Linked DNA regions of Homo sapiens: region 2 is linked to region 1. The links are contacts of gene promoters, found by promoter capture Hi-C in blood cells and fetal thymus (Javierre and others, 2016). All regions are on one chromosome and are shown on one strand. Each heading gives the region's core, a stretch centred on a gene start or on the middle of the fragment in contact. The rest is flanking DNA. Distances are from core to core; before and after follow the strand shown. Region 1 holds the start of XIRP2-AS1 (XIRP2 antisense RNA 1). Region 2 overlaps LOC107985958 (a long non-coding RNA gene).

What was found. The method cuts DNA at HindIII sites, captures the fragments that hold promoters and counts their contacts. A CHiCAGO score of 5 or more calls a contact.
Region 2: a fragment that was not itself captured here is called in contact with the fragment with the promoter of XIRP2-AS1 in region 1 in 1 of 17 cell types (M2 macrophages); the score reaches 5.1 in M2 macrophages.

Annotation. Positions count from the first base shown.
Region 1 is chr2:167,137,089-167,144,788 of GRCh38, reverse strand. XIRP2-AS1 (XIRP2 antisense RNA 1) reads left to right here and starts at 3,834. Exons shown (of 2, transcript NR_046665.1): 1 at 3,834-3,987. The region is part of intron 3 of XIRP2 (xin actin binding repeat containing 2); the gene reads right to left. RefSeq lists an enhancer at 3,298-4,497. The HindIII fragment of the contact is 5,412 bases long and covers 1,751-7,162 here.
Region 2 is chr2:166,564,650-166,572,349 of GRCh38, reverse strand. It overlaps LOC107985958 (a long non-coding RNA gene), which reads left to right. Exons shown (of 4, transcript XR_001739762.1): 3 at 2,167-2,234; 4 at 2,585-3,433. Among named protein-coding and RNA genes, the nearest start is that of SCN7A, 74 kb to the right of the region's middle. The HindIII fragment of the contact is 2,021 bases long and covers 3,767-5,787 here.

The DNA of each region.
Region 1 (7,700 bases), core at 2,585-5,084:
ATATTCTGATGCCATATCCCAAAAGGCAATATGTCATTATTAGGGATGAAGAGTGAAGATATTTAAGCAATGAGTCAGAAGTATTGTGAAGTGATGACATAAAAAGATTTGGAGGTGATATATCAAGTTCTTCCCTGAAGTGTATGGAAAGCAATGGTCTTATCACGTCACTAGAGAATGATTACATATCTCATAATAAGTCAGAAACTATCTAGAATGTTAAGTGCTGAAATATTAAACAAAACAATTAACAGAGTGAGTTTCCTATTGTGTTTGGCAAAATCTGATTTTTTTTTTTAAAGATGATCTTCAAAAAATAGAACGACTGGCTGTTTGTCTTAGCCAGTACAAAGTTATGTGGTATTCTTCAACAATTCCTGAGACCCTCTGGCTAGGACTACGTGTACTGTTATGAGTCCTCATATACTATTTCATCAGTTAGGAAGTTGTAAATAAAGAATCATAACAGTGACATGCAGAATTTATTCATAGAACATTATTTTAGCCCTATCTCCATATTTATGGCTGTAGAAAAAGAGCCAAAAATAGAAACACGTGGCTCTTTGTAAATGTAACTTCTCAAAGAGAAAAGTTTATGTGTTATTATTATCTGTGTTTTCACATATATTAGTTAAGTTATTCTTATATTGCATTATGTATATTATATATTTTAAAGGGCATGTGAAACTACATTAAAAAGAAATAAGAAGTTAGGTTTAAAAGTTAAAAATTTATAATTAAATTTTATTTCATATAGTGAAGTATTTCTAATATTAAATGTCTATAATGAATAATGTAGAGACAATAGACATTTTAAATAAAAGTATTTGGCTTAACTCTTGAAAATAAAAATACATTAAAAACTTCAAATATTTTGAAAATTGAATTTTAAAGAGTAACATTGCTAATTAGCTAATTTATGTAGTGGCTTTTTTTCTATTGCCCATGTCTGAAATATCTAGAAATACACAGGGTTTCTCTAGAATATTGTGGTTTTTTTTTTACGATGGTGAAAAGTCACCAAATATTTCACTCCTTTAATTGGCGAAAATTGTTAAAATATGTCAACGAGCATATTTCTGAAAGTAGAAAAACCAAGTTTTTCCTTTTCATGCAAACCTGTCTTCCTAACCTGGCAGCTGAGTCTAATTAACCTCAGCTGGAATTGTTTCACTCATAGCTTAGAATCTAGCACCCACTCTGGCCCCAGCTCAAGGGTCTATAAAGACATTAATTGAAATGAGCTGTTAAGCATCAAACATATGGAAGTGTCCCTATTTTCTTCCAAATTGCTTACTTTCCGTATCCCTTCATGGTTTTGCAGGATCTACTTGGAATTTCCACCCTTTCTCCTATCCCTCCTTCTCACACATGCGTTCTTTCTCCTCTTGGTCAACTCCCAGTCATGCTTCAAAAACACTTTAAAAAATCAGCATTTCTATGAAGCATCTGTGGGCCCACGGACATAAGTAGTTGCTTCCTGTATCTTTTACTGTAGCACTGTTCATCTCCTAGTGTTGACATCTGTTTATGAACCTGCCACCTTTCTTAAACTATAAGCTACTCAGGGGCAGGGGCTGTGTCTTCACATACCTGTAGCCCCAGTGCCAAGCACAGGGGCAGGTCCATAGTACCTGTTCAGTAAATATTTGCTGAATTTATGGATTTTACTACTGCTCCCATTCTGTGTTCGCCTCTGATACCGAAAAGAATTCATGAGTAACTGAATTCTAGCTACTTCTCAAAAGCTTCATAAAACTGCTTTATTTTTCCCACTTCTCTTCCTGCCTTTGTTCCTCCATTCCTCTCTCCATCTTTTTCTCTCTCCCTTCATCCTTCCCTCCTTCCCTTCCTCCTTCCTTTCCTTCTTTCCATTTTTTCAAAATCACTGCCCCAGAACACTGAGTTTCTTTTAGCCATGCCCTAATCCTTAGTGACTGGGCTTTTTATTCTTAAACTCAGTCTTGCTAGGATTGTATCACCAATACCTGTCATCAAACTTCTCTGGCATAGCACCGTCTGCACTTGTGAACTTCTAACGTCTTTATTTTGGAGCATTGACAGTCACATGAGCCATGCCAACCTGAATAGATACATGGAGTCATGAACTCAGTTTAAGAAGTGGGATTCTTGTGTTTCAGCTTTGTACTGACATTCTAATTTCAAACCCATTAGGTAACACAAATCCCATGTACCTTTCTTTCTCTCTTTTTTTTTATTTTTTTATTTTTTATTATTTTTTGTGATGGAGCCTTGCTCTGTCATGAGGCTGGAGTGCAGTGGCATGATCTCAGCTCACTGCAACCTCCACCTCCCGGGTTCAAGCCATTTTCCTGCCTCAGCCTCCCGAGTAGCTGGGACGACAGGTGCATGCCACTATGCCCAGCTAATTTTTGTATTTTTAGTAGAGACGGGGTTTCACCATGTTGGCCAGGCTGGTCTCAAACTCCTGACTTCATGATCTGCCCACCTTGGCCTCCCAAAGTTTTGGGATTATAAGCGTGAGCCATTGTGCCCGGCCTGTACCTTTCTTATAATAACTAATTCCTGGTTTGGCTCTCATGTGTGGGCTCCAAGCCCTCAGTCAGCCCTGCGGTTCTACCTGAACTTTTTGCCCTCTGCTCTCCTTTCTTGGCCTATTCCCTGTAGAACAGAATAGAACAATATCAGAAATCCACAAGGTGCAGACTGATAAACCAGGGTAGGAGTGATTCCACACACTTCCCATTGGTGACAGTGGCAAGATATGAGGATTTTACTGCGGTATGTTTCCTCTATCTTCAAGTGACTGCAAAAAATCAGCAATATAGTTGCTCCAACTAGGGGGCCTGGGATCATTCAGAGAATATTCTGCCTCAAACCTTAGGAGATACATTTGCCTTTAACAAAATATAACTATGTATATTTTCTTTTCTATATTTTATTTTTGAGACAGGGTCTTGCTCTGTCACCCAGGCTGGAGTGCAGTGGCATGATCTTAGCTAACTGTAACCTTGAACTCCAGGACTCAAGGGATCCTCCTGCCTCAGCCTCCCTGGTAGCTGGGTCTACAGGTATGTGCCGCAAGCCCAGCTAATTTTTTATTTTTTGTAGAGATGGAGTGTTGCTATGTTGCCCAAGCTGGTCTTGAACTCTTGACCTCAAGCAATCCTCCTTCCTTGGCCTCCCAAAGCACTGAGAATATTTACTTATTCAAGTCTTAGTTTAAATGTCACCTTCCCGTGTGGCTGATTCTCATCATCCTAATTAAAATTAGGAATTTCCATCATGCACCATTCCCACTATCCTGGCCTATGTTTTCTATAGCACTTGCTGTCTTCCGATATACCATTTACTTCTTCATTATTTTTTCATCCAATGTATGATCTCCTGTTAGAAAATATGCTCCATGGGCAGGATTTTTTCTTTTTCTTTTTGTCTTTCATTCATTGATGTCTCCAAGCACCTAGAATAGTTCCTGCCACAAATAGGCACTCAATACTTATTTGTTTGATGAATGAACAGATGAATGGGCAAATGAAAACAGCACATCAAAAATATTTGGTAGAAATATGTACACATTTCTGACATTCTACAGTCAGAATATTAAAAATAATATTTAGTTTTTTCCAATTTCAGGGTAGTAAAGTGAATGAATGATTTTTTAAAGGTATACTTAAATTTGTTGTTATCTTTCTTCAATGGCCTCATGTTTTAAAATTAAATATGACCGCGTGCAAGCTCAAAATGAGTTCCTGGGATTTTGGAAATTTTCCAGCATTCCAAGGTGCTGATTTATAGTTACCACGTGAACGACCTCATGAATAGACCTTTCATTACACAGTCCTCAGAATAGCAAACTCCCAGCTGCCCCTTCTTACTGGGCCATGACTTAACTCTGGAATGTGTTTTGACTCACTGACTGTAATAGTGACTAAAAGGAACATGTGGGAGTCATCAAAAATCTGCAGGTGGATCTGACTGTAAGAAAGAGAAACACTTAATTGGGTAAGCAGATCAATTAGAGATGATTACTGATACAAAAAATGGATTCTTTATTTTACAAAGGCCATCACCACAGAATTGTTTTAGATGGTGATCCACTGACAATATTTTTCCTAATGAAATGTCTCCTGTATGAACTAAAATAACATTATTTGGGGCATGAAATAAGGTACAGTAGGTAGGGAAGCAAGTCCGGAAGCAGAAGCCGGTGCTGGGAGTCCTGGGTCCACCATCGTGTATCCAGAGACCAGTTATAAAAGCCTGTCCTCTGAGTCTCGTTAGAGGGGACAGTTCAGGCAGAGCAAAACAAATGGTGTCGATGGTGTTAGCTGGAACTACTCTGTGACTAAATGTCTGATTTACTCCGAAGTTTCCAAAGAAGCCCTGTTTTAATAAAGAAATGGTGCTGTTAATTTTAAAGTAGCCTGTTGCACCATTTCATTTAACTTTGTTAATCTTAGGTATTTAGACAAAGGTTTGCTTCTGACCTGAGGGGATTCATATTTCCAAGACAATTAAGCTCTAGAAAAGATGTTATGGAAAAAAGAATGCAAAGCCTCACAGTAGTATTTCTGTTTCTATGATAAAACTATTGCTTTATCAGCACATTGAAAAGGGAACACAGTTGAAATTATATTTTTCTTAATTTTATCACCAGAAAATACTAAAGAGAGGAGATCATCCCTAGTTCTCGAAGACAAGTTTTTAATATGTGAATTATTGCTATTTGCCTTTTATCTATTTTGCCAACATGAACTTTCTCCTTATCCACATACATTTTAATAAAGGTAAATTGGCAGATAGAGGATCACTTAAAATGAATAATTAGCATCTGGATCAACTCTTATGAAAACGGTAGACAGCTCATTGGACGAATGTCAGCTTCCAATATCATGACGATTTACATGAACATTACTTAAAATTCAATGAAATTAGCAATTATGTTGGTCAGTTGCACTAGCTACTTTTTAATTGCATAATAGCTACATGTGGCTAGTGGTTACCATATTGGACCGCACAGATATAGGACACTTCTATTATCATTATCACAGAAGTTTCTATTGGACGTCATTACTCTAAAATGTCTGATTTTAAACAAAAAATAAGATATGTAAATGACAATCACACAAATACATATACATACTACAGTATTTTAGAAACATTAATGACTGGAAGGATCCCCTCACGTAAAGAGCAGTAGAAAACTGAAAGAACAGAAGTCTCAGTTTGTTTTGTAAAACCCGTCAGAGGAGATGAATGGCCATTATAAGAATAAAGAATGAATTTAGTTTTAATGGAGCAGAATAAAAAGAGAAATACAGCAGGTAATTTCCAAGGTTTATTGCAAAAGCCTGGAAAAAGTGACTTTGAATATATATTTTATCTTTTGACATTTTACATGTTGATGACTTAGAAGATTAAAATTAAAATTATGAGTTAGAGAATAAAAGTGAAGGGCAGGCAATTGTCATATTAAAAAACTCCAAGTCATATAAATCTGATGAACATGACCCATTCAATTCTGATATTTGAAGCATTCCTTGATCCAGAGTTTTTCAGCAGGAAGAGTATATTTTTCAATTCTACATACATCTAGATCAAACACCAGTACCTAAGACTTCCAGTATTCACTTTCTAGCTTACTGGTCTTAAAATATCTAAAAGAAATTCAACAAATCATATATATATATATGCATATATATACGTACGTATATATATGCATATATATATATTTTTTGAGACAGAGTCTCGCTCTGTTGGCCAGCCTGGAGTGCAGTGGCGCCATCTCGGCTCACTGAAGCCTCCACCTGCCAGGTTCAAGTGATTCTCCTGCCTCAGCCTCCCGAGTAGCTGAGATTACAGGCACCCACTATCATGCCCAGCTAATTTTTGTATTTTTAGTAGAGATGGGGTTTCACCATGTTGGTCGGGGCTGGTCTCAAACTCCTGACCCTAGGTGATTCGCCCGCCTTGGCCTCCCAAAATGCTGGGATTACAGGCATGAGTCACTGTGCCCAGCCCAACGAATCAGATTTTTATATTAGTATAATACAATTAATCAAATCATTTACACTGATTGATTTGTTTTCTTTCATATCCCATCTATTATCAAATTACCCAAATTTGTCAAATTATGGATTTGCTATGCTTGACATTTAATGACATATGGTCTAAGTCTTCCTAGAATCATTTTAACAACTGTTAGAGTGTATCTCCAAGAAAATGTGAATGGAATGCACCAACATGCACACGGGAGCACTATGGTTTATTTGACACCAATACATAAGTGAGGAAAAGGAGCAAATAAAATAGACGTGGTGAGAGCAATTGTCCACAAACTGGGAACCTGGGAGTGTATCATCAGGCATAAAAAGAGAGGCTGGGGAAAATCATAGCACCTTTCTGTGCTGTTCTGGTTCTGCCATTGAGGATATTGGAGTGGAACCAAACTGACAGGCATTGCTAGTCCTCAGTCCTGGAATGGAGTTATCAATTCACACTGTTTACTAAATTTTAAATATGCAGGATATTAGGTAGCTGCACTTAAATTATCTTTTATAAGTGTAATTTTAAAAATCTACTGTTTTTCATATTACTACAAATAAATACTGCCTCAATATGAAACTCTTGCGGCTAGTTAAGATGTTTAATGTATAAGGCTGTCACAGTCACTCATATAATTGTATAAATTCTGAAATCTTTCAGTTATCACACTTTATTTAGAAACATGTGTTTATCTTTTTGGAATAAAATAAATATTTACAGCAAAACAGCAATATCAAAATGCTCTTGGTTTGTAGGTTTTGTCCAGTTTAACTTGCATGCTGTCCAAGTTAACTAAATTAAGTATTAAAATAGTTCATTCTTGTCCCAACAGAGATAGAAATTTGGGGCCCCATGAAAGAACGAAAAGGATCCCATAATGAAAGAATTTTGTTTCTTTTAAATGTATTGCTACGTAGGAATTAGAGTTCTTGTGCAATATACAGATAAAATGAAATTAAAATTGCTGCTATGTTCATCCACCTTGCAGATGCAATTTTCCCACCTTGTGTTTGGAAGTTTACTTCTTGTTATTGTCAATGTACCTGGAAATGTGTATTTGAGGTTACTTTTAAATTTCAGTCATATCTTGACAGTAAATAGTGGTTACACTCCAGAATACTTTTTCTAAGCTTTTAACATAAAAAGGCCTTTGAAAACCTTTGCATGGAAATCAAAGAAAACACAGATGAGGAGAAGTAAGATGTGATGAGTGGAGTTAATTATCTCATGTAACTTCGATCAGTTTGCCAAACTCATTTTTGCCTCCCTATGCTAAGCTCTCCACAGGCAAGCATCATCAGAATATAAATCATTCCTTAAAGCTTCTTTTTCCTTGGCCTCTGCTAATCTAATTCTTTTGCATTCAGCCAAGTGCACATAAAGTTTAATCACAGGCCAGAAATATGTGGAGTAAATTCCTCAAGACTGATACTAATCATATTAGGATATTAATTGGGCATACCAAAATGAATTGAAAGTGAAAAAGAGATTGAAATCTCAATTTACATGTATTTAGAAATCCATGCCCAGTCCATCATTAGCAAACTCCCCTTGACTGTTCCTACACCTGCCTCCCACTCCAAATTACATCCTTAAACCAAACGGAATCAGAATGGGCTGAACCATATGTAAATTCCCCTGAAGACCAGTCTGTTCTGTCACAGTGTACA
Region 2 (7,700 bases), core at 3,528-6,027, 570 kb after region 1:
CTAGGAGTTTGATACCAGCCTGGGAAACATAGGATCTCCCACTCCCCCCAAAAAAACAAAACAAAAACAAAACCATAATGTTATATTTAGTTTAGTGGATTTTCTATATAAAAAATAGCATGACTAGTGCTATCTTCTTTACCAATTAATTTCCTTGTGTTTTAAATCATAAATAACATGTATTTTATAAAAGTTTTCAAACTTAACCTAAATGAGTGAAGTTAAAAGTGAAATTTCTTACACCTCTCTAAACTTGCCCAAACCTAGCCAGTCCCAGGGATAATATTAACAGTTTACAACATGTACTTCTGTGAGTATAGGAGCCGTCTCCTTTCTCTTTCCCTTACTTTGATACATACACACACATTTGTAAAATAGAATCATAGGATCATACATAATATTTTGGGAATGATGTGCTCATGTGTTTGTGTGTGGGTATTGTTTTACATCATGGGCATCTTTCCAAGTCGGTACAAATGTAGATGATAAACTGCTTTTCTTTTAGTTGTGACTTGGCATTCCATGGTCTGACTGTAACAATATTTCTTTTACTATTCTTGTAAATGTAGGGTGTATCTAAATTTTATAATTATGAACAAGTCTGAAAAAATATACTTTTATGTATACTTTTTACTAGTGTTAGGAAACATTCACAGAAATGGACAATAATTATATATTTTTCTACAATACTATTTTTTCTGTCTGTATATTATTTCACTGTGTATGTAATTTATTTAAAATGCCATATAAATGACCATCTATGTTATGGAATTTTCCCCCAGCATTTTACTAGTGTGTACAAAATGATATGGACATTCTTGTATTTAATTACAATGAACATCTACAATTATTTCATTAGTTGGCTGGGCGCAGTGGCTCATGCCTGTAATCCCAGCATTTTGGGAGGCCGAGGTGGGTGGATCACCTGAGGTCAGAAATTCGAGATCAGCCTGGCCAACCTGGTGAAACCCCATCTCTACTAAAAATACAAAAAAATAGCCTAGCTTGGTGGCGGGCACCTGTATTCCCAGCTGCTTGGGAGGCTGAGGCAGGAAAATCACTTGAACCCGATAGGTGGAGGTTGCAGTGAGCCAAGATCGTGCCATTGCACTCCAGCCTGATCAACAAGAATGAGACTCCCTCTCAAAAAAATAAAAAATAAAAATAATTTCATAAGTCTAACCTCAAAAGTCAGTTAACAACAATGTAGAATTCTAGAATTGTGATCAGTGTTGTCATTATTTTTTCTACTAGGTTATTACCATCAGCATTGGATGAGAGTAGCCATTTCTTCAAATACTCATCAACTCTAGTTATTGCCACTGATTAATGTTTGATATGATTAATTTTTGTATTAGCATAATTATGTTGTATTTTAAATATAGATGGTATACACATTATGATGGTACTTAGGTTCACCCAAGAAAAGAATTATAAAAGAAAAACAAAGGGAATACATTTTCTCATTGGAGGCTAGAAGTGTAGTGTACTTTCTTATATCTGCAGTGCTCAAAATTTCAGTTATCTTTTGCTGAGGGTTTGGCTCATTAAAAATACTTTTGCAGCCTTATGAAGATATAATTGATGTATAATAAACTGTACATATTTAACTATAAAATTTGATAAAGTTGTGACATTTGTACAACCCCAAGTTACTATTACCATAGTCAAAATAATAAATTCTTCTATCTCCAAGTTTCCTTTTGCCCTTTGAGATCCATCCCTCATGACATTTCCCACCAATTTCACAGGAAAACATTTATTTTCCTTCTCTCACTATAGATTGTTTTTCAATTTCTAGAATTATATATAAATTTAAGAATATATTTGCACTCTTTTTTAAAATCTGGTTTCTTACACTTGTCACTATTGTTTTAAGACCCATTTAAGTGGATGAATGTCCAATAATTTTTCTCGTTATTGTTAATATTCTACAGTTTGTTTAACTATTCATTGATTAATAGACATTTGGGCTGTTTTCAAGTTTGGCTATTACAAATAAAGTTGCTATTAATATTCTGTATGTGTCTTTCTGTTGATGTATGCTTTCATTTGTTTGGGGCAGATACCTAATGATTTGGATGATATGGTAGGCATGTGTTTAATTTTTATTTTAAATGCCAAAGTATTTTTCTGATTTGTTGTCTCATTTTACTTCCCCAACAGAAGCTGTATCCTTTGTCCCAGCCTCAGCTCTGGGGTCACGTTGATTTGTCACGGCAGCCCCACTGCATGTAAGTCAGAGCTCACACCACATGGGAATGGAGAGCCAAGTAGGAAAGTAAAAACGTCAAGATCAGCTGCAGCCCAGTTAAGAAGGCCTACCAAGTTCCTTTTGTTATTATCATGCTCCAAGCTAGTACTAGGCAACTCTCGAAAGAGTCTCACCTGAGACTTGATAGATCAACCTGGAGTAATAGGCTAGCCCCTGCTCTCAACTTACCTAATTTTGCTTGATGTAACCCTGTCTCCCCTGACCTGCAACAAACAGTGGAAACCTGGAGATGAAAATCCAGGAGGTGCAAGTCTAATGGCTTTTTGCTATCCTCCCTTTAACTCCTTCCTTTCCCCACCTCACCTACAGGCTGGAAAGAAGTGTTCATGGTACTTTACCCTATTCTAAAATAACGAGGTGACTGAAGGCCCTACTGTGTAAGAGGAAGCATTCTCTTCAAGCCCTATCACCAACCCTTTCTGATAGCACCCACTTCAGAGACAACCTATGGTGAGTTTGGTGTGCATGTTTCTGGATAATATTTTGTATTTTAACATAAACATATACATGAATAATACATATTTTATACAAGAATATTTAAAAATTGATATATTTCTAACATATGCAAAGATATAGGTTAGATTTTTTTCTGTTCTTCTAATAGTTACCAATAATAAACAGCCAAATTTAATTAATATACAGTAATAGTAATACATTCTAAAGTAAATCTGCATATACATTTCTTTTCTGAAGAAAGGGATCTTAACAAACTTTAATCTTTTTTGAACTCTCACATTTTGTCCCAAACAAATACATATTTGTCCCAAATATGTACACACATATTTTTTATTTTAGAGTCCTTTAATTAAGTTTATCAATATATTTTATGATCTTTTTCTCACCATTGTCTCAAGAATCCCACTTCTTTTGCCTGGAGTTATTTTTCTTTTTCATTTAATAACTTGTCGATGACAGTCCGTGGGTAGATTGAAGAACAAACACTTAAGACATATGTTAATTTTATTTAAGCTTTTTTTTAGACTTCTGCAAGAGAATACAATATTCTTAGCTATTGTTACAAATAACATAAATCATATTGGAATCTTTATAATACAAAGGAAAAGAAAAATGATAGCTCTTGTAAAAGAAATGCAGCCACACATATGTCTTAAACTCCAGTAATGTGGTTTTAATTTAAATTTCAGTGAAATCTGGAATATTTACAATAAATTTAATTAATGAACCAATGTTACATTAAAAATGAGCCACATATTCTGATTTATACTTTTCTAAATGTTTTATGATGTTAACAAACATAAATTTCACATTTATCTAGTAATAAAAAATAAAATGTTGAGAGTTCCTTTTTTATTGGAAACTTTTTTATTGTAGTAAAATATACATAATGCAAAACTTATTATTTTAATGTGTGTAGTTCAGTGGCATTGAGTACATTAACATCACCACTATCCATTTCCAGAATGTTTTCATCTTCCGCAGCGAGTTCTTATCATGAACATTAAATGTCAAGAAAACGTAGCACAGGAAGCTTGTTACTTTCAATCATGCAGAACACTTTCCATGTCTTAAGATCTGTTTTAACTTGATAAGTGGGAAGACAGAGTTTTGCTTAACACCCTGTGTTGTAAATATTCCCAATGTCTACCTTCTGTTAGTAGTGAAAAGAAATAATTCACAGCATAGTTTCTAGATCAATAGAAATGCTGTAGATCTTAATGATTTACACTGTAGCTTTTCTTTTTATTTAAAAGAGATTATTTGTTTAAAGAAGACTAACTTTGCTGTCACTTTTGTTTTCTTTGTATAGAGAGGTCTTATTTTATTCTGTCTTGATAGTGGTGAGCTGTTTTGATTATTGTATGTGTGTGAAATGCCTTAATAAACACTTTGGACACAGAGCTCAACATTTAAAGACATTTTCCCCTCAACACTTTGAAGATATTATTCCATTGTCTTCGAAGATAAATTGTTGCTGAGATAAACTCTGCTTTTAATATGCTTGTTATTTCTCCATAGAAAATCTGTATATTCACTTTTAAATATTTTCAATATGTTTCATTATTTTTGTATGCTGATTGTAGATTCATTTTTATTAATGTTGCTTAGCACCTAATGGGCTTTGTCAAATTTTCGCCACTTCTTTCTCAATTTTGAAAAATTCTGAGCCATTATCTCTTTGATTATCACCTTCTCATCCTTTCTATTATCCTATTCTTTGAAGTTTATTATATGCTGCTGTTTCTTGATACAACTAATTTCTCTTTCATATGTCCTAATTTTGTTACACTCTGGAAATTTACATGATTTTATGTATTTATTTTAATTGATAATTTAAAATTATATATATTTATGGTATACAGCGTGATGTTTTAAAACATGCATACGTTATAGAATAGCAAAAATCAAGCTATTTAACATACACACCATCTCATACACTTGTTTTTTTGGGATAAAAGCAGTTAAAACCTATCTCAGCAATTTTTAAGTACACAATATATTATTAGCTATAGTGGCCATGTTGCATAGTCGATCTCTTAAACTTATTTTTCCTGTCTAACTGAAATTTTGTATCTTTTGACCAAGACCTCCCTAGTCTCCATCTCCTAACCCCCAAAACCTGGTAACCACCATTCTATTCTCTGCTTCTGTGAGTTTCACCTTTTTAGATTTCACGTATAAGTGAGAGGATGTGGTATTTGTTTCTGTGTCTGGTTTATTTCAATTAGCATAATTTCCTCTAGGTTCATCTATGTTTTCGAGAATAACAGGATTTCCTTCTTTTTTTAGGGTAGAATAGTATTTCATTGTGTGTATATACCGCATTTTCTTTATCCATTCATTTGCTGAAGGACAACAATTAGGTTGATCCCATATCATGGCAATTGAGGATAAGGCTGCAATGAACATGGAAGTGCAGATATCTCTTTGACATACTGATTTCATTTCTTTTGGATACATACCCACTAGTGGGCTTGCTGAATCATCAGGTAGTTCTATTTTTAATTTTTTGAGAAATCTCCATACTGTTTTCCATAATGGCTATGCTAATTTACATTTCTACCAACAATGTATAAGGATTCTCTTCTCTCTGTACCCTCACAAAACAGTTGTTATCTTTTCTCTATTTGAGAATAGCCATTCTAACAGGTGTGACGTGATATCTTATTTTGGTTTTAATTGCATTTCCTTGATGATTAGTGAGGTCGTGCATCTTTCTATATATTTGTTGGCTATTTACATGTCTTCTTTGGAGAAATGTCTACTCACAACCTTTGCGCATTTTTAAGTGTTTTTTTTTTGTTGTTGTTTGTTTGTTTGCTATTCAGTTGTTTGAATTCCTTACACATTTTGGATATTAACCCCTTATTAGAAATATGGTTTATAAATATTGTCCATTTTTTTAAGTTGTCTCTGCATTCTGTTGATTGTTTCCTTGGCAGTGAAAAAGGTTTTTAGTTTGATGTAATTTCATTTTTCTATTTTTGATTTTGTTGCCTGGGCTTTTATGGTCATTGCCAAAAACTCATTGCTTAGACCAATGTCATAAAGCTTTTCCTATGTGTTTTCTTCCAGTTATTTTACAGTTTCAGACCTTAAATTTTAGTCCTTAATTCATTTTCCATTGATTTTTTTAATATGGTATGAGATAAGGGTCTAATTTTCTTTTTCTTCACATCCAGTTTTCCCAATACCACTTTTAAAAATTTTATCTTTTCTCCAATATGTATTTTTAATATCATTATCAAAAGAGAATTGCATAGATTTATTTCTGGAGCCTCTATTCTGTTTCATTGGTCTATATGTCTGGTTTTGTGCCAGTACCTTGCTGTTTTGATTATTACAGCTTGTAACTGATTCTGATATTAGGTAGTGTGATGCCTCCAGCTTGTTCTTTTGCTCAAGATTTCTTCAGGTATTCCTAACCTTTCATGGCTTTGTACACATTTTAGGATTGTTTCTTCCATTTCTGAAAAAATGTCATTGGAATTTTGCTTTGGATCTATAGACTTCTTTGAGTAGTATGGACCTTCTTCCAATCCATGGAAACTGAGTATCTTTCCATTTATTTGTACCTAAATGTATTATCAAATGTACTAATTCTTTATTCAGCTATGTTTAATTTACTACTTATTTATTGATTTTTAAATGTAAAGGATTCTAATTTTCTAACATATTCTTAGCTCTTTTTACATGTTCATCTATTAGTTTACAATCTCTTGGCCATTTTATAGATGCCTTTTGAAAATTTTAAACGAATTCACTTTAAAGTGGCCTCAAATTACTTTAATACTCTGAATGTTTTTTCCATGTATAATTTTTCTACTCAAGGGTATGTTGACCTTTTTCATGGCAATAAACTTTTTTATTTGCTTTGCAGTGTTTGTTGTATAGCTCATTTTGCATTGTTTCCTAGCATGTTCATCCATTCCTGCCAGAACGTTACATGATGGATTCAGACCAGGATCTATGGAGAATACATCTCCAATTATAGTGTACTCCTTCTACTTATTTTTTTAAGTTAACTGTAAAACAGTCTTAAGCAGGTTCAGGAGGTATGCCACAAGAAGGCATTATTATCATAGGAGATGACAGTTCCATGCATGTTGATTGCGCCTGAAGACATTAAAGTGAAAAAAATATAAAGGTAGAAAACTGTGATATTATCTTGACTCTATGTAGGCCTAGGCTAATGTGTGTGTTTGTGTCTACTTTTTTAACAAAAAAGGTTAAAAAGTAAAATAAATAATTTTAAAAATGGAAGAATGCTTAAAGAAAATATTTTTGTACTGCTGTACATTGTGTTTGTGTTTTAAACTATTATTTTGAGAGTCAAAAAATTTAATTAAAATGTTTATACAATAAAAAAGTTACACTAAGCTAACTTATTATTGAAGAAAAAAGTGTTTTAGTAAATTGAGTGGAGACTGTACAATGTTTATAAAGTCTATAGTCATGTATAATAATGTCCTAGGCCTTTACGTTCACTCACCACTCATTCCCTGACTCACCCAGAGCAATTTGGTCCTTTTTGTCATTGGGATATAACGAAACAAATGAATTTGATAAAAAAATTGTTTCACAGAACATATTAAAATTGTAGTTATGAGTTCTGTTTTATTAAAATTGCAGTTATGAGTTCTGTTTTATTAAAATTGCAAGAGTTTTCATTCCAGAGTAGCTTTCTCCCATAGTAATTTATCTTCAGGGCTTTGGCTTAAATAGCTATAGCAGACATAAAATCTCAATGAAGTTTTATGCAAGGATTAGATAAAATAAATTATTCCAGATGATTATAGTTTTCAAATGATCTTCTTAGCATATAAATATTTATTCTTTATCACTATATCATTTGTATTGATATTATCATTATATTACATGTTAAGTAATAATTTAGTTCAATTTATTGAACACTACTTCTAGTAATGTTCTGTTATCTACATTTAATTCTAACATCAGCAAATAT